7 separate regions of the Homo sapiens genome follow, and all the other regions are linked to region 1. Evidence: promoter capture Hi-C in human tissues and cell types (Jung and others, 2019). All regions are on one chromosome and are shown on one strand. Each heading gives the region's core, a stretch centred on a gene start or on the middle of the fragment in contact. The rest is flanking DNA. Distances are from core to core; before and after follow the strand shown. Region 1 holds the start of PCDH10 (protocadherin 10). Region 2 has its middle 71 kb from the start of PABPC4L. Region 3 has its middle 130 kb from the start of PABPC4L. Region 4 has its middle 280 kb from the start of PABPC4L. Region 5 has its middle 350 kb from the start of PABPC4L. Region 6 has its middle 400 kb from the start of PABPC4L. Region 7 has its middle 420 kb from the start of PABPC4L.

What was found. The method cuts DNA at HindIII sites, captures the fragments that hold promoters and counts their contacts. A contact is called where the count stands out against the background at its distance.
Region 2: a fragment that was not itself captured here is called in contact with the fragment with the promoter of PCDH10 in region 1 in 1 of the 25 tissues and cell types used here (mesendoderm cells).
Region 3: a fragment that was not itself captured here is called in contact with the fragment with the promoter of PCDH10 in region 1 in 1 of the 25 tissues and cell types used here (mesendoderm cells).
Region 4: a contact is called between a fragment that was not itself captured here and the fragment with the promoter of PCDH10 in region 1, in 1 of the 25 tissues and cell types used here (mesendoderm cells).
Region 5: a contact is called between a fragment that was not itself captured here and the fragment with the promoter of PCDH10 in region 1, in 2 of the 25 tissues and cell types used here (heart left ventricle and mesendoderm cells).
Region 6: a contact is called between a fragment that was not itself captured here and the fragment with the promoter of PCDH10 in region 1, in 2 of the 25 tissues and cell types used here (H1 embryonic stem cells and heart left ventricle).
Region 7: a contact is called between a fragment that was not itself captured here and the fragment with the promoter of PCDH10 in region 1, in 1 of the 25 tissues and cell types used here (H1 embryonic stem cells).

Annotation. Positions count from the first base shown.
Region 1 is chr4:133,147,471-133,151,021 of GRCh38, forward strand. PCDH10 (protocadherin 10) reads left to right here and starts at 1,824. Exons shown (of 5, transcript NM_032961.3): 1 at 1,824-3,551. The coding sequence starts at 2,671. It overlaps PCDH10-DT (PCDH10 divergent transcript), which reads right to left and starts at 1,646. Exons shown (of 9, transcript NR_125885.1): 1 at 1,559-1,646. RefSeq lists an enhancer at 1,568-1,627 and a silencer at 1,738-1,877. The HindIII fragment of the contact is 10,822 bases long and covers 1-3,551 here.
Region 2 is chr4:134,129,285-134,132,835 of GRCh38, forward strand. It overlaps a transcript of PABPC4L not described here. Among named protein-coding and RNA genes, the nearest start is that of PABPC4L, 71 kb to the right of the region's middle. The HindIII fragment of the contact is 6,623 bases long and covers 1-3,551 here.
Region 3 is chr4:134,068,276-134,071,826 of GRCh38, forward strand. It overlaps a transcript of PABPC4L not described here. Among named protein-coding and RNA genes, the nearest start is that of PABPC4L, 130 kb to the right of the region's middle. RefSeq lists an enhancer at 2,411-3,099. The HindIII fragment of the contact is 5,712 bases long and covers 1-3,551 here.
Region 4 is chr4:133,923,501-133,927,051 of GRCh38, forward strand. No RefSeq gene overlaps it. Among named protein-coding and RNA genes, the nearest start is that of PABPC4L, 280 kb to the right of the region's middle. The HindIII fragment of the contact is 7,204 bases long and covers 1-3,551 here.
Region 5 is chr4:133,850,038-133,853,588 of GRCh38, forward strand. No RefSeq gene overlaps it. Among named protein-coding and RNA genes, the nearest start is that of PABPC4L, 350 kb to the right of the region's middle. The HindIII fragment of the contact is 7,112 bases long and covers 1-3,551 here.
Region 6 is chr4:133,796,232-133,799,782 of GRCh38, forward strand. No RefSeq gene overlaps it. Among named protein-coding and RNA genes, the nearest start is that of PABPC4L, 400 kb to the right of the region's middle. The HindIII fragment of the contact is 3,980 bases long and covers 1-3,551 here.
Region 7 is chr4:133,777,778-133,781,328 of GRCh38, forward strand. No RefSeq gene overlaps it. Among named protein-coding and RNA genes, the nearest start is that of PABPC4L, 420 kb to the right of the region's middle. The HindIII fragment of the contact is 4,201 bases long and covers 1-3,551 here.

The DNA.
Region 1 (3,551 bases), core at 574-3,073:
ACTGCAGCTGGAAAAGGATTAGCCATTTTTGCTGGAATCCTTTCCTTCTAAGCGCTCAAAGGCAGGACCCATCTTCATGAAAGAGCCAAGTGCGGGGGCCGGGGGGACCCGGCGTTGCGGGGAGTTGGGGCGCGGAAATCAGGGCAGTAGACGTGCATTCGCGGGACTCTCAGAAGCACGTCTCAGGCTACTATCACGCCCATGGACACTAGCCCTCCTTAACTCCTTGCCAGGAGGAAATGGCAACGTATCTCCAGGTCGGAAAACGACTCTACTTTTCCCGCAGGTTGTGGTGGTGTATTCTTGGGTCATTCATTACCAGAAAGCAGCAAAGGACCTTCCTATCTCTTTGCATAAAAAGGAGATTGAATAGGGGCTTCTTTCGTGAATAAACAACCAATTCCTTGCTAGTGGCCCATTAATTAAAAATATATATTTATAGATCTTTCCTTAGAGAACTGGCATTCTATCCACTCTCCAGCATTAAAGAGTTCGCGCTGTGTTTTAACTTCACAAGAACTAGCTATGTGGATGTGCCGCGTTGCCCCTGCGCCTCCGGAAGGGGCACTCACAGCTGGTCAAGCGCGTCCTTCGGAACTCGGGGAGGCTCCGTTGGGGCTTACACAGAGCTAAGCCCTGGGCCAGGGAGGATGGATGCAAGTACCGTGCATGTGCAAACGTGTTCGCAGATACCCGCAGCGGTGCACACTCGGGCCCCTCGTGTGCACGGGCCCTGCCCACCACCCCGCCCGCGTTCGCCGCCGCCCCACTGTCCTCATCCCGCGGGCTGACCCCAGGATTGGCAGAAATCAGTGGTCTAATCTAGCATGGTGGGTAAAGGGATCGATCTCCAATTGCCAAAAAAAAAATAGAAAATAGCCGGTGTTCCCAGCCGCTGCGTGGCACTTGGCCGCACAAGGCGCAGGGATATCAGAGGCGCTTTGCAGCGCTTGGCGGTGCTGTGTGCCGGATGCCCCAGAGCCCGGCGTTAGGATGGCGGGCTTGTAGGAAGCGGCTCAAATCAACTCCTCAGTCACTGATGAACGCGCTCACGGCTCGAAGCTAGGTCCTCGAGTGAGTTAATCTACTTGGTAAGTATTTTGTGAATATGTATTTTGGGAGGAAAGAAGCACGTCGAACGCGTCTGCCCGTCTGTAAGCGCTGTCATCCCCACATCCTTTAGCGTGAATTCCTCCGCTTTTTAGGAGTCACCTCCACCCCCTACTCCGTATGCTTCGCGCCTTTCCTCACGGCCCCGTCAGACCCCCTCACCTTTAGATTGACACATGCCATATAATACTCACTTTTAAAATGCCCTGCCAGTCTCTGCTAGGGTCCCTTAATTAGGTAACCCTTGCCAATTAGTGGGCCCTGCGCTACTTTTTCCCTTCTCGATGATTTATTTCCATGATGCGTATTAGGGAAAATACCTTAAAGGAAAAAGAATGTTAGCATCATTGGAAATCCCGCTCCTAGGAGAGGATATCGCAGCTGTTGCTATTATGTTTTCGCATTTGCTGATGCAAACAGGGGAACCTCTCTATTCCCTCCCCATTACCTGCGGCTGGGGACTGGGAACTTTCCGCGGCATTGTCCCCAGCCAGCGCCTCGGGACCTGCGGGGCTGTTCTCGCTCTCACACTCACACTCACCCCGGCCGCTCGGGCGAGAGTTCTGTCCCGCCCCGCCCGGCTGCCGCGTGACGTGTCTGTTTGGCGGCCAGTTTGGCCAATCATCGGCAGCTCGGTGGGTGGTGCTCCTGGGCGATTGGTTGGCAGAATGAGGGCGCTGCGCAAAAACGGAGAAGCCGAGCGCTCGGAGCTCAGAAACTGCCAGCCCAGACCACAGGCTCAGAGGCTGAAGCAGGAGGAAGGAAGGACTGGAAGGAAAAAGAGACAGGTTAGAGGGAAAGAGGCTTGGGAAGAAAACAGCAGAAAAGAAACTGCTCATTACACTTACAGAGAGGCAAGTAACGGTGGAGATGAGGACAGAGGGAACCAAGACTCTGAAAGACAAAAAATACAAATAGAGCGAAAGAGGAAAAAAATGTCAAGAAGAACATCCATCCGGAGAAATGAAGAGAATGAAAGTTTTAAGCTGCAGAGCCGTTCTGTGCTTTTCCGGCACAAAATTATATCGCTGATTTTAAGCCCTTTTGCATTTGCCAGCCGTTGACATTAAGAGGCATGTTTAACGGTGCCAACAGCATCTCCTTTTCCTTCTCCTCTTCCTCTTCTTCTTCTTCCTCCTCCTCCTCCTCTTTTTCCTCCTCCTCGTTCTCCTCCCATCAGCAAGAAGACAAACCGAGGACAGTCTTGAAATATCGAAATTTCCTCTTTGGGATTTGCCAGCGCCAAGACTGTCGGAATAAAGGACGCTGACTATTGTATTATTGTTATTTTATTAATTAGTCAGTGGAAAGATTACAGATGAGGAAAGGGGACGCCTGTCACCCTTCCTGTGCTAAGATTTAAAAAAAAATGAGGCTGGATTGCGGGAAGCTCTAAAATGAAGCAAAAGGAGTAAGATTTTTAAAGACAGAAAGCCACAGGAGCCCCCACGTAGCGCACTTTTATTTGTATTTTTTCAGATTTTTTTTTGTTTCGTGGTGGTGGGGGAGGTGATTGGGTGGCTGACTGGCTGCGGGAAGCTACTTCCTTTCCTTTTGGAGATGATTGTGCTATTATTGTTTGCCTTGCTCTGGATGGTGGAAGGAGTCTTTTCCCAGCTTCACTACACGGTACAGGAGGAGCAGGAACATGGCACTTTCGTGGGGAATATCGCTGAAGATCTGGGTCTGGACATTACAAAACTTTCGGCTCGCGGGTTTCAGACGGTGCCCAACTCAAGGACCCCTTACTTAGACCTCAACCTGGAGACAGGGGTGCTGTACGTGAACGAGAAAATAGACCGCGAACAAATCTGCAAACAGAGCCCCTCCTGTGTCCTGCACCTGGAGGTCTTTCTGGAGAACCCCCTGGAGCTGTTCCAGGTGGAGATCGAGGTGCTGGACATTAATGACAACCCCCCCTCTTTCCCGGAGCCAGACCTGACGGTGGAAATCTCTGAGAGCGCCACGCCAGGCACTCGCTTCCCCTTGGAGAGCGCATTCGACCCAGACGTGGGCACCAACTCCTTGCGCGACTACGAGATCACCCCCAACAGCTACTTCTCCCTGGACGTGCAGACCCAGGGGGATGGCAACCGATTCGCTGAGCTGGTGCTGGAGAAGCCACTGGACCGAGAGCAGCAAGCGGTGCACCGCTACGTGCTGACCGCGGTGGACGGAGGAGGTGGGGGAGGAGTAGGAGAAGGAGGGGGAGGTGGCGGGGGAGCAGGCCTGCCCCCCCAGCAGCAGCGCACCGGCACGGCCCTACTCACCATCCGAGTGCTGGACTCCAATGACAATGTGCCCGCTTTCGACCAACCCGTCTACACTGTGTCCCTACCAGAGAACTCTCCCCCAGGCACTCTCGTGATCCAGCTCAACGCCACCGACCCGGACGAGGGCCAGAACGGTGAGGTCGTGTACTCCTTCAGCAGCCACATTTC
Region 2 (3,551 bases), core at 454-2,953, 980 kb after region 1:
AAGAAAGAATAGACTTAGACTATACCCTAGAACAAATGGATTTCACAGATATTTACAGAACATTCTACCCAACAGCTGCAGAATATACATTCTATTCATCAGCACACAGAACGTTCTCCAAGATAGACCATATAATAGGCCACAAAACAGTCTCAACAAATTTATGAAAGTCAAAATTATATCAAGTACTCTCTCAGACCACAGTGGAATAAAATTGGACATGAACTACAAAACGACACCCCCAAACCATTCAAATACATGGAAATAAAATAACTTGCTTCTGAATGATCATTGGGTCAACAATGAAATCGAGATGGAAATTTAAAAATTTAAATTTAAATTTAAGTTTAATTAAATTTAAATTTTTAAATTTAAACTGAATGATAATTATAATTAAACTGAATGATAATAGTGACAAAACCTATCAAAACCTCTGGGATACAGCAAAAGTGGTGCTAAGAGGAAAGTTCATAGGATTAAATGCCTACATCAAAAACTTTGAGGCTGGATGCAGTGGCTCACACCTGTAATCTCAGCACTTTGGGAGGCCAAGGCGGGGGAAATCACGAGGTCAGGAGTTTGAGACCAGCCTGACCAACATGGTGAAACTTCGTCTCTACTAAAAATACAATTAGCCAGGCGTGGTGGTGTGCACCTGTAATCCTAGCTAGTCAGGAGGCTGAGGCAGGAGAATCGCTTGAACCCAGAAGGTGGAGGTTGCAGTGAGGCAAGATCACACCATTGCACTCCAGCCTGGGTGACAGAGCGAGACTCTGTTTAAAAAAAAAAAAAAAAAACAACTTTGAAAGAGGACAAATAGTTAATCTAAGGTCACACATCAAGAAACTAGAGAAACAAAAACAAACAAAACCAAAACCTAGCAGAAGAAAAGAAATAACCAGGATCAGAGCAGAACTAAATGAAATTAAAACAAATAAAAGATAAATGAAACAAAAACCTGATTCTTTGAAAAATTAATTAAAATTGATAGATCATTCATGAGATTAACCAAAAAAAGAAGAATGAAGATCCAAATAAGCTCAATTAAAATAAAATGGGAGACACTACAACTGATTCCACAGAAATACAAAAGATCATTCAAGGCTATTATGAATGCCTTTATGCAGATAAACTAGCAAACATACAGAAGAGGGACAAATTCCTGGAAATATATCACCCTCCTAGTTTAAACCAGGAAGAAATAGAAACTCTGAGCAGACAAATAACAAGTGCAAGATTGAAATGGTAATTAAAAATTTGCCAAGTAAAAAAAAAGGCCAGGCCCAGAGAGATTCATAGCTGAATTCTATCAGATATTCAAATAATTGGTACCAATCCTATTGACACTATTACAAAACATAGAGAAATAAAGAATCCTTCCTAAATCATTCTATGAAGTATCACCCTAATACCAAAACCAGAAAAGGACATAAAAAAAACTATAGGCCAATATCCCTTATGAACATAGATGCAAAAATTCTCAACCAAATACTAGCTAACTGAATCCAACAGCATATCAAAAAGAATATCCAACAGCATATCAAAAAGATAATCCACCATGATCCAGTGGGTTTCATACCAGAAATGCAGGGACGGTTTAACATACAAAAGTAAATAAATGTGACACACCACATAAATAGAATTAAAAACAAAAATCACACGAGCATCTCAATAGATACAGAAAAAGAATTTCACAAAATACATCATCCCTTTATGATTAAAACTCACAGCAAAATCAACATAGAAGGGACATACCTTAAGGTAATAAAAGCTATCTATGACAAACCCACAGCCAACATTATGTAGAATAGGGAAAAGTTGAAAGCATCCCCCCTGAGAACTGGCACAAGACAAGGATGCAAACTTCCACCACTTGCATTCAGAACAGTACTGGAAGTCTTAACCAGGGCAATCAGACAGGAAAAATAAAAGTAAAGGGCATCCAAATCAATGAAGAGGAAGTCAACCTGTTGCTGTTTGCTGATGACATGATCATATACCTAGGAAATCCTGAAGACTCATCCAAAAATCTCCTAGATATAGTAAGTGAGTTCAGCAGAGCTTCAGGAAACAAAATTAATGTACCCAAATTAGTAGCCCTACTATAAAGCAACAGCAACCAAGCTGAGAATCAAATGAAGAACTCGATCCCTTTTACAATACCTGCAAAAAAATTAAAATAAAATACTTAGGAATATACTTAACCAAGGAGGTGAAAGACCTCTACAGGGACAACTACAAAACACTGCTGAGAGAAATAACAGCACAAACAAATGAAACACATTCCATGCTCATGGATGGGTAGAATCAATATTGTGAAAATGACAATATTGCCAAAAGCAATCTATAAATTTGATGCAATTTGCATCAAAATACCACCATCATTCTTCACAGCGCTAGAAAAAACTATCCTAAAATTCCTGTGAAACCAAAAAAAAAAAAAAAAAAAAAAAAAAAAAGCCTCCATAGCCAAAGCAAGACTAAGAAAAAAGAACAATTCTGGAGGCATTATATTACTCAACTTCACACTTTACTGTAAGGTTATAGTCACCAAAACAGCATAATACTGTTGTACAAATAGGCACATATAACAATGGAACAGATTAAGGAAACCAGAAATAAACTCAAATACCTACAGCTAACTCATCTTCAACAAAGCAAACAAAAACAAATTGGGGAATGGACATTCTGTTCATCAAATGGTGCTGGGATAATTGGCAAGCCACATGTAGAAGAAAGAAATTGTGTCCTAATCTCTCACCTTGTACAAAAATAAGCTCAAGATAAATTAAGGACTTAAACATAAGATCTGAACCCATAAAAATTCTAGAAGATAATATCAGAAAAAACCCTTCTAGACATTGGCATAGGCAATGACTTTATGACCAAGAACCCAAAAGCAAATTAAACAGAAACAAAAATAAATAGATGGAATAAATTAACCTCAAAAGATTCTACACAACAAAAGAAACAATCAACAGAGTAAACAGACAACCCACAGTGGGAGAAAATCTTTGCGGTCTGGATATCCAACAAAAGATTAATATCCAGAATCTACAAGGAACTCAAACAAATGAGCAAGAACAAAACAAACAATCTCATCAAAAAGTGAGCTAAAGGCATGAATAGAAAATTTTCAAAAGAAGATGAACAAATGGCAAATAAACATATGAAAAAATGCTCAACATCACCAATGAGCAGAGAAATGCACCCAAAACCATAATGCAATACCACCTCACACTGGCAAGAATGGCAATAATAAGAGAATAAAAAAAAATCGATGTTGGACTAGATGTGGTAAAAAGAGAACAGTTTAACCCTACTGGTGGGAATGTAAACTAGTACAACCACTATGGAAAAGTGCGTAAATTCTTTAAAGAATTAAAAGTAGATCTACCAGTTGATCCAGCAATCCCACTACTGGTTATTTACCCAGAGGAACATAAGTCATTATACCAAAAAGATATGTGCACACACATATTTATAGCAGCACTATTTGCAATTGCAAAAGTATAGAACCAGCCCAAATGCCCATCAATCAATAAGTGGTT
Region 3 (3,551 bases), core at 487-2,986, 920 kb after region 1:
ATCCTTCTTTGTCTCTTTTAATCTTTGTTGGATTAAAGTAGGTTTTGTCTGAAATTAAAATAGCAATCCCCGCTTTTTCTTTTCTCCATTTGGTTGGGAGACTTTTCTCCTTCCCTTTACTTTGAGCCTGTTGGTGTCGTTGCATGGGAAACAGGTCTCTTGAAGACAGTCTGCTATTGGATGTTGCTTCTTTATTCAAATTTCCACTCTGTGCCTTTTCATTGGTGTATTTAGCCTGTTTACATTCAAGGTTAATATTGGTATGTATGAAATTGATCATGTCATCATGTTGTTAGCTGGTTATTATGCAGACTGTGAGGTTGCTTTACAGTGTCAGTGATCTATGTACCTCAGTGTGTTTTTGTGGTGGCTATTAGGTGTTTTTCCTTTCCATATTTCTATATTTAGCACTCCCTTCAGTACCTCTTTTAAGATACATCTTTTTTTTTTTTTGACAGGGTCTCGCTCTGTTGCCCAGGCTGGAGTGCAGTGGTGCAGTCTCGTCTCACTGCAACCTCCACCTCCTGGGTTCAAGTGATTCTCCTGCCTCAGCCTCCCAAGTAGCTGGGACTACAGGGATGCACCACCACTCCTGGCTACCTTTTTGTATTTTTAATAGAGACGAGGTTTCACCATTTTGGCCAGGCTGGTCTCGAACTCCTGACCTCAGGTGATCCAACCACCTGGGACTCCCAAAGTGCTGGGATTACAGGTGTGAGCCACTGCACCCAGCCATGATAGGTCTTAGGGTAACAAGTTCCCTTAGCATTTGCTTATCTGGACTAGGATCCTATCTCTCCTTCGCTTATGAAGCTTCATTTGGCTGTATATTAAATTCTTGGTTGGAATTTCTTTTCTTTAGGAATGTATGTCCCCAATCTCTTCTGGCTTGTAGGGTTTCTGCTGAAAGGTCTGCTGTTACCCTGTTAAGTTTCCCTCTATAGGTAACATGCCCCTTCTCTCTAGCTTATTTTAACATTTTTTCTTTCATTTTGGTGTTGGAGAATATGATGACTATGTGCTTTAGGTATGATCATGTTGTATAGTATCTCAGAGGGGTTCTCTGCATTTTTTGAACTTGAATGTTGATCTCTTTAGCAAGGCTGGGGAAATTTTCATGGACAATATCCTGAAATATTTTTTAAGTTGCTTGCTTTGTCTCCCTCTCTTTCAGGGACATCAATGACACACATATTTTGTCTCTTTACATAATCCCATATTTTTGGAGAGTATTTGTTCTTATTTAATCATTTTTCTTTATTTTTTCTGACTGAGTTATTTTGAAGAACTGGTCTTTAAGCTCTGAGATTCTTTCCTCAGCTTGGTCAATTCTGCTGTTAATACTTGTGATAGTATTCTGAAATTTTTGAAGTGAGTTTTTCAACTCTATCAAATCAGTTTGGTTCTTTCTTAAAATGACCATTTCATCTTTCGTATCCTGTATTATTTTATTACATTCCTTAAAATCCTTGCGTTGGGATTTGGCTTTCTCCTGAATATCAATAATCTTTATTTCTGTCCATATTCTGAGTTCTATTTCTGTCATTTCAGCCATTTCAGCCTGGATATGAGCCATTGCTGGGGAAATAGTTCAGTTATATGGAGGGAATAAGACATTCTGGTTTTTGAGTGGCCAGAGTTCTAGCATTAGTTTTTTCTCATCTGTGTGGTCTGATGTTCCTTTGGTCCTTGAAGTTGCTGTCCTTTGGAGGGTTTTTTTTTTTTTTTTTGGCTTTTATTTTCTTTGATGCCCTTGGGGGTTTGATTTTTGCATAAGATGGATTTATGCTACATTTCCAGACATTTTTAGGGGGCCAAGGCTCAGCTCAGCCCTCCAGGAATGTGTGCTGTGTGGTTTCATGTTGGTCCCCAGCTTTGTTTTCTGGACCCTTGTGAGCTTAGGAACGTGCTGCATTGGTGGGGCCTAGGTGCTCCCGTACCACTGACCACAGCACTCTGATGAGTGGTGCCAGCCAGAGTGGTTCTTTAAGACAGTGGCAGCAGGATTCAAGCTTGTTCACAAGTGCCAGCAGCAGCGGCAGTGTGGTGGGGTGCATGTGCATCGGCTGTGGTGAGGTAGCAGTGGGGGCTGGGCTGACACATTTTTGCAGGCCTTCATACCAGCAGCAGGGGTGGTGAACTGGCCTGTGCAAGGCTGTTGGCCTCCTTGTGTCAGATTAAGGCAGTTGTGGTGATGGCACAGCGGGGCATGGGGTTGTCAGTGCAACAGCAATGGTGGCATAGTGGGGTGGAGGGTGAGGTACGCTCATGCCAGCTGCAGTGTCCCAGTGGGTGTGCATGCACTCACATGCCGCTGGAGGAGGGGAGGTGTGGTCTGCCCACCCAGACACTGGCAAAGCAGTGGGGGTGTGGCTGTGGGTCACTGTGGGCCAGCAAAATGTGCAGGTGAACTGGTACATGTTGGTGGAGGTCACTTAGAGCTCTCCCATGGTCAGGTGCAGTCTGCTGGCAAAAGAGCTACCATGAGGGCCCCAGGGTAGCATCCCAGTTGGGCAGCTGCAGCTTCACTGCAACAAGGTGGCCAGACTTGTGCCCCAGGGGAGGCCAGCAGAAAAGAGAGAACACAGATCAGACTGGCCTTGTCTCATGGACAAGACTACTCTGCTCTCTCCAGGTCCGACATTCTCCATATGGCTAAAGTCTCCTAGAGGAGCATGGCGAGCCTTGGGAAATGGGCATTACTGGACATGCTCCACTGCAGATGTTCCCATACCAAACCCTGAGGGCTTCAGACAGGCTGGAGTACTGTTCCTGCCACCTCTCTAAGCAGTTCTCCCTGATAGCTGAAGTGTTTGTGGAGGTCATAAGGTCTCCTGCTGCCAGGATTCTGGAGGTCCATGGCAAGAGCACGTTGCTCAACTCCTGTTCAGCTCATGGCTTCCTGAGGAGTCAGTGGGAGTCAGGAAAGTCCCTGTGTGCAGTAGTGCCATGCAGGGTTCCCAGCTTCCTCCTCATTCTGCCCATCATCTGTGTCCTCCCTCTGTCCACTCTCAGTGCCTTCCTCTGAAGATACACTCTGAGTGTGCCAGTCTTCCTTATGTACCAGTCTCTTGGTGGTAGATGTTCCTTCTAGCTGCATCTTATCAGACATCTTGAATCACTGAAACACTTGTTTTGACAAGTTATGCTAATTGGCCCTAGAACCGATTGAGAACTTTGATCAATATCCAAACACAAGTTATTAAAATTCTTTGGTGTTTTCATTCCTCTACTAATAGATTTCTATGAGTGATCATTGTACCTCTCACACCACCCTATGCCTTTTGAGGCAAACTGTTATAACAATATTGAAGATAATTTAAATGAAATAGTGGGGAGTGACTTTAGGCATGAGGCTGAGGTAGTTTGAAAAAGGAGACTGTTGTTTTCTCTGTAAATTAAGAAACACAGTAATGCACAAAAAATATGGGCAAGGTGATTGGGTTAGACATTTTAATACAGTAAATAATTTAAAATACTCAGTTTAGAGAACCAGGAAGTGAAACAATTTAGAAAAATCTTGTAGAAATTCTAAGCATTTAATGATCCCT
Region 4 (3,551 bases), core at 345-2,844, 780 kb after region 1:
ACTTACATTCTAAACATTCTCAATGATTTAGCTAAGTGTCCCACTAAGCATTTATTTCTATTCATGACTTCTAGGGCTTTCACCTTACAATCCTTCCCACAGTTGATCAATGATTTTGTGAGTCTGCTGCCATGTAAAAGTTCTTTAAAAAGTGAGGAGAAACAAAATACCAGATTTAGATAGGGGTATTTTAAGATAAGGTCACACAATAGAAATAAAATGTTAACTTAGTCATCAACTATGTTATCTAAAGGTGGACCAAATCTAAAATATTTCAGTAGTTATTTAACTCATAACCTCCTATATCTTTCTTTCTTTTCTCTCTCCTTGATTAAATGTCGTTTCACTACATGAGATGTCTCTATAACAGACATTATATGCTCTATCTTTACATAGTCTCTAAATTTAGTTTTATAATAATTACATAGTCTCTAAATTTAGCTTTATAATCACTAAAGCTTTCCATAAGTTATAGTTCTGAATCTTCAGTTTTCTTTGACAAGGTCTTTCCTGTTTTTACATAGCAATAACTTCAGTATCTCTACATGATAGCCAAATCTCTTCCTCAAATTTCAGAAATTACTCACGGAATACCTGACACAACCACAAACGTCCCATAACAATTTCAATATTAATGTGTCCAAAGTCTAAACTCATTTTAATTCCTTTAAAAGTATTTCATATTCAGTGTTTCTTACTATCATCCATCATCCTTTAGGCACTCAAGTCAGGACCTTGATAGTCTAAGCGTACCTTTCTGTCTCTTGATTCCAAAATGTAGCTTATTGCAATCGTGTGGGTATTAAATTCTAAATACCTTCTTCACACATTTCTATCTATCTCATCCCCTTACCAGAGACTTATTGACAACCCCCTTCAAATGTTGTTTGATGTTAGTGTTGTTTACAGTAACACTAATACCCTATGGTTTCTCTGACACCTTCCTGCACTACATCATTTGACCTTTACCACTGCTATTAAGAGTTTGATGTGCACTTTTCACCTTTGTCTTACCTTATTTTGATTTTTCAGACTTTCCAGGAGACTTAAAACTCTTTATGATTGAGTCCAGCAAACCTGTCCAGAATCACCTTACTATTCTTACCTAAGCAAACTCTATCATTGCCAGAATAAACTACTTGATGCCCTGCACATCTAGTGATCCATTCCATATACTATTTCCTCTACATGGATTGCACTTGCCTCTTCTCTCCTAACAAATTCTACAAAGTGTTTTGCCATTTATTAAGTCAGAGTTCCTCCTACCTGTCTCCATAATGTTTTCCTTACACCTCAAGAAGAGCACTAAGATTTCATTTTATTACTTCTGTTTGGACTCCTAGATAATGTGCATCATTGCAGGGTTTTATATTCTTCTTTAGCCTTTTGCATACTGCTTTGAATATAAAGATATTTCTCTAACTTTACTATATCAACATGTATTTATTGTATTTTCTATTACATACCATGATTTTTTTAATTGTATATAAAAAATTAGCTCTCTGTCTATCTTGGTCTATAAGTATGAATATGTGTTTACATGAGTAACAAATGGCTTATATGATAATATAGAAATAAACAAGATTACTCTAATGTAAATCTCATTTTGGTCCCATTCTAGGAAAGACTTTACAAAACAAACACAAGACAAAATAGGTATAGAAAAATGAGTTTCTAAATGTCTTAAGATACATTGTAAGCTCTACGTATATGACAGGTAAAAGCGAGCATTCAGAACATCTGGCCTCTCTCATATGGCATTACTTACTGTAATGTGTATAAATAGAAACAGCAAGAAAGAGTGTGGCACATTCATTTTTGCATTCTTTGCTAATGCAAGTCTAGCTGATATTTATACCTCAGCGATTTTTGAAAGAAGATTAATGACATGAATATTTGTAAAGAAAGTGTCTATGTGACCAACATTGAAGCTGCTCTTGGATATCAGTGTCATAGTTTTTTTGCAATGGCTGCCTTTTTGCCACACAACCTTATTTTATTGAGGTGACAGGCTGTCACATGTAAGGTTTATTTCTATTACCTCTTTTGCTGCTTTAATTCACAGTCTATTTTCAGTGTCTTTCTTTCCTTTCATATGTTAATTTTGATTTGAACCAATTAACATATCTAACAAATCCTAGAATTAATTTTTCAATTCAGATTGAGCCACATATTTTTGCTGAAATATATTAGAGAATTTTTTGATAGCTCAGTTTTCAATAATTCCCCACATTTTGGAAGAAGGTTATGCCTATAGTTACTTTGTTGTTTCCTGACTTCCAGAGTTACTTCTATGTCTTCCTTCAGTGTCCAATGTTAGGAATTTGATTTTAATGACAACAATTGGAATACATTCTTGTTAAACTCTGTATCTTAAGGCAATCTCTGATATTTGCTGAACAATCAGATTTTTTCCAGAATATGGCTGTGAGCTCAAATGAGACAGTCTCCCTTTAAGTCATATGAGTGGAAGTATGAAGGAAAGTGAGAAATAAATTGGGGCTGGAAAATATGGTTACATTTTTAAAATGAGAGTATCTGAGATGTCAAGGTTGGGAGGAATAAATAACTGTACTTTGCTTCACATAATACAAATACTATTTTATAAAATTTTGATAAACAACTACACAAGGCAGAAATCATTGAGTTGCATAGAAAACCTTTTGGGACCATTTGGAATTAGCAGGGATTTTACATTTACCTTTTAGAGTTTTTTTTTTCTTGCAAAATTGCAAAGAGTTTAACGACATACTAAGTCAAAATCTGCAGGTTATAGAATTGCATTTCCCTTACATCAGCTTTTAGCTTAGTTATTAAGCATCCTGCATCATTGTGGTTTTGTTCAGATGTGAATAAAAGCTAATGTTTATTGAAAATTCTATTATTCCCTGAACAATTTAAAGATTCACAAATCTACAATGTAAAACATAACAAAGCATAACAGACAATGCTCTGTTCACCATCCAGATCTTAATTACATCAGGTGAAATGTGGTCAATTGTAAACTACAGAAAACCCAACTCAAAGTGACAAAAGCAGATGTAAGTACTTGCCTCACATCCACACCAATGGGGTTCACCAAGATGGGCTTTTCCATCTCACAAATAACTAAAGAGCCTGGATTAATTTAGATCAAGTGACCACTCAATATAACTGAAAGACTCTCAGCTCTGCCACTTCATCCACAGGCTGGCTTTTCCTGTAGTAGTGAAATCGATGCCACTATTTAAGATTTTACATTCATTTTCCACACTGTCTAAAAGGGAAAATTTTATATCTTCCAACAATTACCACCATCTGGGCTTGATTTTGTTTAGAACAATTTAGGTTCAGCTTTTGAAGCAACAACTTTTGCAAGAGGAGGTGCCAATCATGACCCATTCTTGGACATGGAAGATCGAATCAAACCCACTCATCCTACAGTCTGGGAAACAATGACACAGGAATAGATGATGAGGAGGCAGTCAACAATGCTCACTGTATTCCTATAACAATGTTATCTTTAAAAATAAGTCATTGTAAAATTCTATAGTAATGGCCAATTAAAAATC
Region 5 (3,551 bases), core at 300-2,799, 700 kb after region 1:
CTCACTCTGTTACCCAGGTTGAAGTGCAGTGACACAATCATGGCTCACTCTCACTGCAGCCTCAACCTCCCTGGGCTCAGGTGATCCTCCCATCTCAGCCTGCCGAGTACCTGGAACTACAGGTGTTCACCACCATGCCCGGCTAATTTTTTGTATTTTTTGTAGAGACAGGGTTTCACCATGTTGCACAGGCTGGTCTCAATCTCCCTAGCTCAAGCGATCTGCCTGTCTTGGCCTCCCAAAGTGCTGGGATTAATGGCATGAGCCGCTGAGCCTGGACTTAGTTTTTTTTATGCATGTATATTCTGCAGAACATCATGCTAGTCTGCTATGGTGGCACTATTAGGCTAATTGACTTGGTAGTCAGAAATCTCAAAGCTACTCTAGCTATTTTGGAAGAAGGGCAAGACATAAACTTTGAGCATTCAGAAATCTGTTACCTCGGCAAAACCTTAGGAATTTCATAATCTGACCCATGCTGGGACATCCTGTGTATGATTTAAAAAAATAAGTTGCTGAAACTTGCACCTTTAATAAAATGAGAGGTCTAGTGCTTGCTGAGTTATTTTGACTTGAAGTATTCATATACAGCTTTGAGTAATACTAATTCATGCCATTATTCATGAGGCTACTAATTTCTATTTAGACCCAGAGAGAGAAAGGCCTCCAGCAAATTAAGGCTGTAAAGTGTGTTGTAACCTACCATGAAGCTTTGGCTATATGATTCAGCAGATGGATTGGTAACAGACTATTCACGGTTGGTAAGAGATGCTGTGTGGGTCTCTGGGACCACCAGTTGGAGAGTTGTAGATTACTGGAATTCCAGAGCAAGGAGGGAACTCCTTGCTTTTGGAGAAAAAGTTCTTGATCAGCTACTTGGCCATAATAGAGGTTGAGCCCCAGGCCATGGGATTCTGAACAAATAGAAGAGCTGTGTATTGTTAAAACATTAGCCAGGCAAAGTAGAAATTCATCTTATAATATGCATGTGCAGGGGGTCAAAATATGCCACCTCAAAATACGCCACCTTGGCATAAAAATAATTTTGAACTAAAGATAAATCAGAAATAACAGATGCAGAAGGAAGCCTTGTTGGAGCTTCTTCTATTTGAATGAAAGCAGAAACCTCTGAAAAATTAGAACTATCAAAATTTCTACTCCAAAGAAAGCTTTATGGCAATGAAGGAAATAGAAAGTGAGCACGAAAGCAACCTGAATAAACAACACTTATCTTCCATTACTTTCCCCACATATGTAACATTTGCCTTCCTACCATTTGCCATCTTTGAAAGCATAAAACACTTTTCCTTTGTCTTGTAGCTTCTTTAAAAATGTATTGTTCTTTTGTTAAGATACTGTATAAACACAAGTTCTAATCAACCCTTTGAGTAACTCAGCATGGAGGTTCCTCCGGTGTAATGTGTACTGCACACATTAATAAACTGTTTTTCTCTTCTTAATTTGCCTTTTGTTAATCTGATTTACAAAGTACCAGCTGAAGAATCTAAGATGGGTAAGGTAAAAATATTTTTTCTCCATGACACCATTATATGCTTATGATCAGGCCAAAGCGTGTCCAGTAGGAACAAGTAAGCTACATAATTAAACAAGTAGTCTAACTCACGTGCTTACCTCTGTTGTATTGATGCTTCATTTGCACACATTTTCTCATGTGTGATTTCCCATGAAGGAAAAAAAAAAAAACAAAAGGAAAGGAAAAAAAAAATAAACAATGAGATTTACTTCTTGGTTTGTTTAATTATGATAGCCCCAAATCAAAAGCCACTGCAGTATAGCTCTAATCAGGGATAGTCTGATAGATGTCAGTTAGAGAAAATTTTCTTTCTGGACAGAGACTTGCAGTCAACTTGGTTCTATACTTTAACGCTCTGTCCTCAATGGCTAGAATACAAGGGTTTAGGAAATAGTGGGCGGTTGATATGGTTTGATTGTGTCCCCACAAAAATCAAAATCTCATCTTGAATTATAATTCCCCATATACCCATAATCCCCACATGTCAAGGCAGAGACTAGGTGGAGGTAATTGAATCATGAGGTGGTTCCCTTATCATACTGTTCTCATGGTAGTGAGTGAATTCTCACAAGATCTGATGGTTTTATAAGTGTGTGGTAGTTCCTTCTGCATTCATTCTCCTTCCTGCCGCCCTGTGAAGAAGTTACCTTGCTTCCCCTTCACCTTCTGCTATGATTGTAAGTTTCCTGAGGCCTCCGGAGCCATGCTTATCTGTGAGTTAATTAAACCTCTTTCCTTTATAAACTACCCAGTCTCAGGTAGTATCTTTATAGCCGTGTGAGAATGGACTGATACGGTGGTGATAGGAGTGACCCCCTCTCACCATCATTTCTTAACCCAGTTTCAAAAGGTCGGCTTCCTGTCGCCACAAGTTCAAATTCTGCTGGATTAGGGATCTTGATTTTCAGGAGTAATGACACTTCTTCTAGTGAGCTCAGAATTGTGTCTGCTAAACCTGAAACTATGATGATTATCTGATCACTTTGAGCTTCTTGTGCTGTTAATGAATAGGTAAAGAAAGGAATTACTATACTAGTCAGGATAACTAACCTTTATTTTCATAAGATGTCTTAGTATATATGCATGCAATACTAAGCAACAGATACCTCATCATAGTCTCTCCAATTATTTTTTGGTTATACAAGGTTTATACTTTAATAGGTTCCTCAAAAAGCATTCAAGAATTGTACTCCAGGGTTTTGTTTTTCTGCTTGTTTGCTCTAATATTCATTATTATTTGTGTGCTTTACACTTGAAGGTAAACTGAGCTGGGTATGATATGATTTGATATAATACCTTGGTTCTCTATTTTTCTTTCCTTGCATTACTTAAACATGTCCCTATCTTGTCTTCTGTTATGAAGTATTGCCTTTAATAATTTTAATACCAAACCTGATTTTCTCCTAATTAATGATTAATTCTGTTCTATTTTGGATGTCCGAGTAGATTTACATTTTTCAAATTTGTTATTCAATATTATTTTTCTTATTTATTAGAAAATGCCCCATTATTATTTTTGTGACTGTTTAAATTTTTCATTATTTTTTAAAATTTATTACTCAATATGATTTTTGTTGCTTATTAGAAAATGCCCCTGTTTTAATTTTGTGAATAATTCTTTATTCTCCAGTATGATTCTAGTTAAATAGTTCATATTACGTGTAGTCTTTTTTATTTCAAAAAAATTCCTTTACATTTATTTGTTTTTCTGTTTATCTGTTCATTTATCAATCTATCATCAATTTATCTTTTTTCATTGCTTTGGTTTACTTTTTTGGCATCTCCAATAATAGGTATGTTGAATCTCCTGTATCTGTTTTCTATATTTCCTTTTTCCATCAAATTTGTTTCCTATTTTAATTTCTGTTTAATTAATATGTTATTCAACTTTCTGTTCTCTAGTTTGGTTATCATAATTTTTGTGATGTTTACTGTAGTAGTATGTAGTTAAGACTTTGTTTCTGAGATTTTTTTTTCCTTGGATTCTCTCAATTATCTATTCATACTCTCTCATTGT
Region 6 (3,551 bases), core at 455-2,954, 650 kb after region 1:
CACCACAGACATGTTGTATTTTTAATACTGTAATGCTTTCTCACTTGTTTTTTAAAAAGCACATGAAGGACTACTTGAAAGCTATTGTCTTCTGCATGCGACTTTATTAATTTTTCAGGTGAATATTTTCAGATTTGTTTGACTTAAGAATGGATTAAAATGAAAATGTGAGCACAGAACCTTACTGAGTATGCTGTGCTGAAACATGTTCCTTAAGCATATTTGTCAGCTGGGAGCACCTGACAAGTTCTAATAAGAAATGTTTTACTCCATTAAAAAATAACAGTGCACCTGTCACTAATACAGAAAAATATGTATTTGCATACATTAAAAATTCATCTGTAATTATTTCTGACATTTCTGAGTTTTCTTTTTCCATAATGGGATTTTATTTAAAACTTTTTGAACTTTATATTTATGTAATATTCTAAAACTAGCACATTGTTAATGAAAGACTTTCATTTTAACTTATTTGATTTGTTATTTATTCTAATTTTATCCTTTCTATGACTAGCATCAAGAATTGTTACAACCCACTTGGAATATGTTTGCACACCATATAGTTCACTGCATTCATTTGTACAAGTGCCAGCTGGCCAGCAACATTTTAATTCCCTTATTTTTCTTTTCTCTCTTCTTTTTTAGCTTTATTGAGCCCTCTGCTTCATTTTCTCATCATTTCTCCATTAACCTACATTTAACTCCAGTAACAGATCATATCCATCATTTTGTATGTGGTACCAATTTTCCGCATGTGAATAAGCCAAAATACATTCTTCAAAGCTAAAGCAAGTATTTGCTGCAATCATCACCAAATCACATACAAATTTATGGATAGAAACAAATATTTTTGCAAAGTAATGAATATGGAAACATCAAATATAATTTTATGTCATACATTGTATAGATTTGGAATTACTGTAATTATATCATCATTTCTGTTTACATTTAAGTCACCATTCATTTATGAGAATAAAGTAAATCTGGCTGTGACAGAAAGGTAGATCTTAAATTAGAAATTAAGATTTTCAGCACAATATTTTATTTAACACTGTTAAAAATAGACAGACATTTTGCTTTTGCTGTCAGTCGTGGGAAATTTAAATGAAAAAAAAATTATCCTCATTTAGATATGCCCTTTTCCCCCTTGTAATCATAAAACACATGCCCACACTTAGAAACAACTACACAATCTTTGTAATTCATAGTACTCATAATCCCTACTCATGATGCTAGCTCAGGTCTTCATGAAGTTTAGTCTATTTCAAGCTTTATTTCTTAGGATGTTTTGGGAATGGCTTGGATATGTTATCATTGGAGTAAAGGCCTTTTTAGTGTTCTATTTCCTGCAGGAGCAATTAAATCAGGTGAGAGATTGTGGATCCACTTTATATGAGGTTTCTGTATGGTATTCTTATTTGGCTTTATTATTCTTTTTTCTTCCTTGCTTATAGAATCTCCATTTCATTCAGATAAAAACTGCCTTGATGAAGGGGATGAATGACAATCAGGTTTAACTGGTGGATGTCAAACTGAGGTGCACATTACAGTCACCTGAGGAAGTTTTGTGACATCCTGATACCCTGGAGATTTTGAAGTAACTGGTTTGGAAAGGCAGCCTGTATTAGTGTTTTTAAAGAGTTACAATTATTTTAATTGTTTAATGCTTAAGCCAATATAACTTCTTTTAGGATAGAGGTTGCATAGCCAATACCCCAACTTAAAGGGAAACTATTTCTTTTCTGATGAAATGCAAAGTTGAGGCCAGGAGAAAGCCTTTTTTTTCTCTAGCTCCCTTCCCCGTTCTTCCCTTCAACCTTTGTTTCTTTGTTTTGAGAATGCTGAAGAATGATAATGTAATGTTTGAAACTGTAGCAGCCATTTCATAACCTTGAAAGGTGATATTGCCACCAGGCTGAAGTTGAAAGATTAGAAGTGAAGGAACTGAAATCTTGAAGATACTAAATTGCTAAATCAATCCTGAGAATTCCTTAATATATAAAGCATAAGTGTCCTCTGAAGGTAAGTTCTCTAATATTTGCTACTAAACATATTTTAACTGATTCCATTATTGATATGATAACTCAATATTTAGTACTTAATTCAGATAAATTAGAACAAATTAAGTTTTTTAAGTGCTGTATTTAAACTATAACAATCTTTTATTCCTTCCATTGATTCATTCCTCAATACACAAGTCTTTTGGTCTGGTACAGACTTACTGCTGTGCATTTTGACCAAGATCATTAGTTAGAATATGTGTATTGTGTGCTAATAATATAGTTGCAGTTATATTTGGCCCACTCTGTCTCATATATTTTAAAACTAATGCCTAGTTTTATACTTTGGACAAATGGGTTTCTAACCACATTCCAGAATTATGCTATGTATTCTTAATTTAGTTATTAAAATATATTCATTGAGAACCATCAATATAATAAGTCTGTTTAACAAAGTGTATAAATGAATGAGATTTGGAATACATCTTGTTTTCAAATCCAATCCATTACTCTTATTGATTATTTAAAGCACTCTGATAAAGAGATCTACATATCAACTTTCTAAGGATAGTAAAAAAAGTTAAGAGAGGTTGAATAATAGATACAAATGTAGGAAGGGTATAGAATGAGGCAGTACGGAATATTGTATTACTTAGAACTCTTTCTCCCAAGTCTCACACAAAGGGGAAGTGATTCAAAATACTGACAAATGTATGTGTACCTTTTCCTCAACGAATAATTTTTTTATTTCATAAATAATGTTCATTATATGCTAAATACTGTTTAAAACACTGAGCACAAAAATGAAGAACAAAGTTAACATGATTCAATCTCTCATGAAGCTTCAGTCAAATGAGAAAGACTAATGTTAGCCGTATAGATTAATCATAGATCAATCAATAATTGAAATCATATTGTTTCATATGAAGAAATGAAATTCTTCCAAATATATTTGATATTAAGTCATGTAACTAAGATTAGAATTCTCCTCTACTTTTAGCTAAGTATCTTTTCCAAAGCAAAATAAATGGGACCAGGATATAAACCCAACTTAGTAAATTTGCAGAATTGTATTCTTTTATATCCTAACCTTTTTTCTAAAGGTAAATAAAGCCAGGAGATATGGACAGTAAAATATAACATTACCATAGATTTACAAATGTGAATAGATTTTATATATTTTACCTTTACAATACTTTTCAGTCTAATAGATGGTACCACCTCCATAAAATGCTAGCATCAACAGAGAAATTAATGTGCTTAATTAACATTAATTTATCTGGCATGAAAAAACGGGGTATTTTTATACCAGGGTTATTTAAATTTTATATAAAACACAGAGATGGAAAATCTTCATGTATACATTATAGAGAATATATGATTATGCATATATATTTATATGCTTATATAGTATACATAAAATACTACCCAGTGCATAATTTTAACACAGAAAGTGGCTTTACAGCCTGGTATTCCAAGAATGCTTTGGTATAAAAATCATTATCTTGGCTGACAGTTTTACCAGATCTTCTAATAAGGATCTTCTTCACT
Region 7 (3,551 bases), core at 533-3,032, 630 kb after region 1:
CATGAGGAGAAGAGGAGGTCCTGGGAGCCCAAGATAGAGTGATTCAAATGGCAGGGAGATAATATGAAAATGTGAAACGTGAAAATGAGTGAGGAACATGGTGCTTCACTCCATCAACACTCTCTGAGATGCTGTAAAAGGGACATATGGAAGCTCAAACTTAAATAAGAAGTGGGAATTTCCTTGCAGTGATCATAATGATTTTATAAAATTCCTTTTACTTCTGTGGAGACAACGTGTGTTAAAGATATCAAAAAATGTCATATTTATTATAAGCTGTTTAAAATGTTTTCTTTTAAGTAGAACATTATGCCCATAGAATATACATGAATGTGAATGCATACTTTTCGTTATAATTATTGCAGAATAAATACATATCAGCTATCTTGTTTAATTTTGCAAGAAATTTAATAAATAGTAAATTCTTTGTTAAAAATCTGTTGAGTCCATTTACTATACATATATATGTTTGAAGATACTATCAGCATGAGGAACATCTTACATGACAGACACTGTTGCATATGTAATCTCGATTAGTGAATAGGATTCTAACTACTTTTAATGAACTTCAAAGCACATATTTGACACATACATTAACAGAGGATCTAGAAGTGAGAAGTGAAATATTCTTTGGTATAGGTAGATACTATAAAGTTAATAATACTGGATAAGTAATGATGTATAAGCACAGATAACATCATCTTGTGACATCTATTTTGTTAGGTGTACTGTGGATATGATTTCAGATGATATTTGAAGTGGTTCTACACAAAATAGAACATCTCAATCTTAGTGATTTTATTAACACTATTGTCATTAAAATGTAAAAAGTTGAATGTTTGAAAATTATATATGTAATATAGACATATGTATATATGCATACATAAATACATGTATAAAGATGTGCATAAATACATACAGAACACATACAGTTGCATTTATATTTTTTCAAAAATATATTGAAGAGATTGCTAATTAACTAGTATGTATTACACTGAGCATAAGGTAGTCATCCATTCTCTGTGGCCAAGGCCCCTACTGGACAGCTGAAACCATGGATAGTACAAAATTATATGTATACTATACCCAAATTTCTTCTTCCTTTTCCACGATTTCCTGTATAGAAGATTCGTTCTTACTGTAGATCTTAACAACCTCAGCATAAGATTTTTTTCTTTCCTTATTAATCAAAGAACTTTCAATTTTTCACTTAAAGGAAGCACTTTATGGCTTCTCTTTGGAATATCTGAATTGCCAGCATGATTACCCTTTCACTTTCGGGCCATTATTAAGTAAACTAAAGCTTCCTTGAAGACAGGCACTGCCATACTGTGACAATCAATCTGGTAACCAAGAAAGCTAAGAGATTAATGAGCAGGTAGTGTAGACAGTGTGGATGTGCTGGACAAAAGGATGATTCAGATCCGGGATGGGACAAACAGAGATGGCATGAGTTTCATTACGCTACTCAGAAGATAATGCGATTTGAAACTTATACATTGTTTATTTTTGGAATTTTTTATTTAATACTTTCAGGCTGCAGTTGACTGAGTAACTTATCATTTACTTCTGAGCTATAAAAAAGGTTTTAGTTACTAAAAAGGTCGCAGTGCTCAAAAAACAGTATGTATCAAAACAGACTTTGTATATCAAATCTATTTTTGTAGTTCAATCGATGGATTCTACATTTAAATTGTAGTGAACACAGTATTTTCATATGGAAGCATGAGTGGATTGTGGGCAGGAAGCTTTAAGCATTAACTCATTGTTTTAATTGCATTTTTCCACTTGAATTCTCACAGCTCTATTCTTCACCCAAATTCAGGTAGCTAGGCCAAATTACCATTTCCTCAAGGGGACTATTGTCACTCTGGAAGCAAATACAATATAGATATAAGATGAAAATCTTTATATTGCATGCAGACAGAAAAAAATTCCATGAGCTAGATAATGAATATCAACTGCAGAAACCGCCCCCCACCCCCTGCTAGGGAACATCTGGCAATGTCTGGAGTCATTTTTGGTTGTCACAACTGAGAGTGGGGGGTTATGTTGGCATCTGGCTAGTGGAGGTCAGAGCTGCTGTTAAACATCTACAATGCAAAGGACAGTTCCACAACATAGAATGATCTGATCCAAAATAACAATAGTGTTGAGATTGGCAAATGCTAGACTAGAGAAAGGGGAGAGAGAGGAACATCACTAATATGACAGAAGAGACAATAGCATGAGATCAACAAGTTTTATCTAAGAATGCACTCCCAGGATCAGGGATGCCTTCAGGAACTGAGTCTGTTTGCCATTCTTGTGAGTACCAAACATAACCTATGCTAACAATATACATTAGTTGCCTGCTTTTTGCAAACTAATAAGGATTTCTCTTTGATGGCAACAAGCATGTTGACCACTAATTGTCCAAGGAGTTCTGATGCCTCCTTTTGATCCATAATTTGTTGTCTTACCAAATGCACCCTATATAGGCTATCCATGTTTCAGTGACCCAGGACACTGAATACATTTCAGGGAAGTGGTAGTGTGGAAGGAAGGATTTTCCATTTGGCCCAAGTGGTAGCTAAGTATCAACTAAAGAGTGACCTTTAGGCAGGGTAGTGGTTACTCTTGCCTTCATACACACATCTTCGTCTTGAAAAAAAATTATATCACATTATCATACAGTAGTAATAAACACATCTCTATTCTAGCAAATAATTAAAAATATTAAAAAATTATATTGAAAGAAAATATTTCTATTGTTTGCCTTATATGCATAATATTTCCCTTGTAAGTCCATGGTAATTTGCAGGAAAATTCATTGTGATGTAATTAGTTTCATAAGATTGACAGCAACGGCCCATCTATTATAGATTTTTATGACATGCTAATTTCCCATCTGTCCAGGGCACTTCTTTTCATGTGCCAACATTTTAGAGAAAAGTTATAAGAATTGAAAGCCTACTCTTCTTCTAATTGCAGGACGACAATTATTAATGCAATATTCTTGCTAAAGGAGAAGGCACGCTTCTTCGTTTTTTATAAAGGTCACTTTTATAAAAAATGATAGTTCATTATAACCTCCAAATTGAAAATTATTTTCTAGTAATATAAGCAGGCCCTGTCCCACTTTCACACTTATCCCTAAACCTAAAATGGCTTCCTTTTTCATATTTATTATCCCCAGTATTCTCTGTGAAATTTCTTTTGCATTAAGAACCTTTCCAAGAAGGTTTCATTGAAACATGTCACATAGGGGATTATAAAATTAATGTGATGTCTTTTACAAATACATTGTAAGTACTATAAATAAATCAACCAATGACAAACTGAAGTATTTCTTTTCCCTCTTATGAAAGAAAGTGAGACAATATGCAGAGAAGGCTTAAGAAGCTCAAGTTGAAGTAAAAATTTAAGCTACCCCAGAAAAGACTATAAATACTTGTTTATTACATTTGATTTCTGGTATGCCTAAAGTGAGTTACATCTGTGCCAACATATGGATAACTTTGTTCTGAGGGCCTGGGTTTATTGGAGGCATGGGCTGGTTGCCTCACATC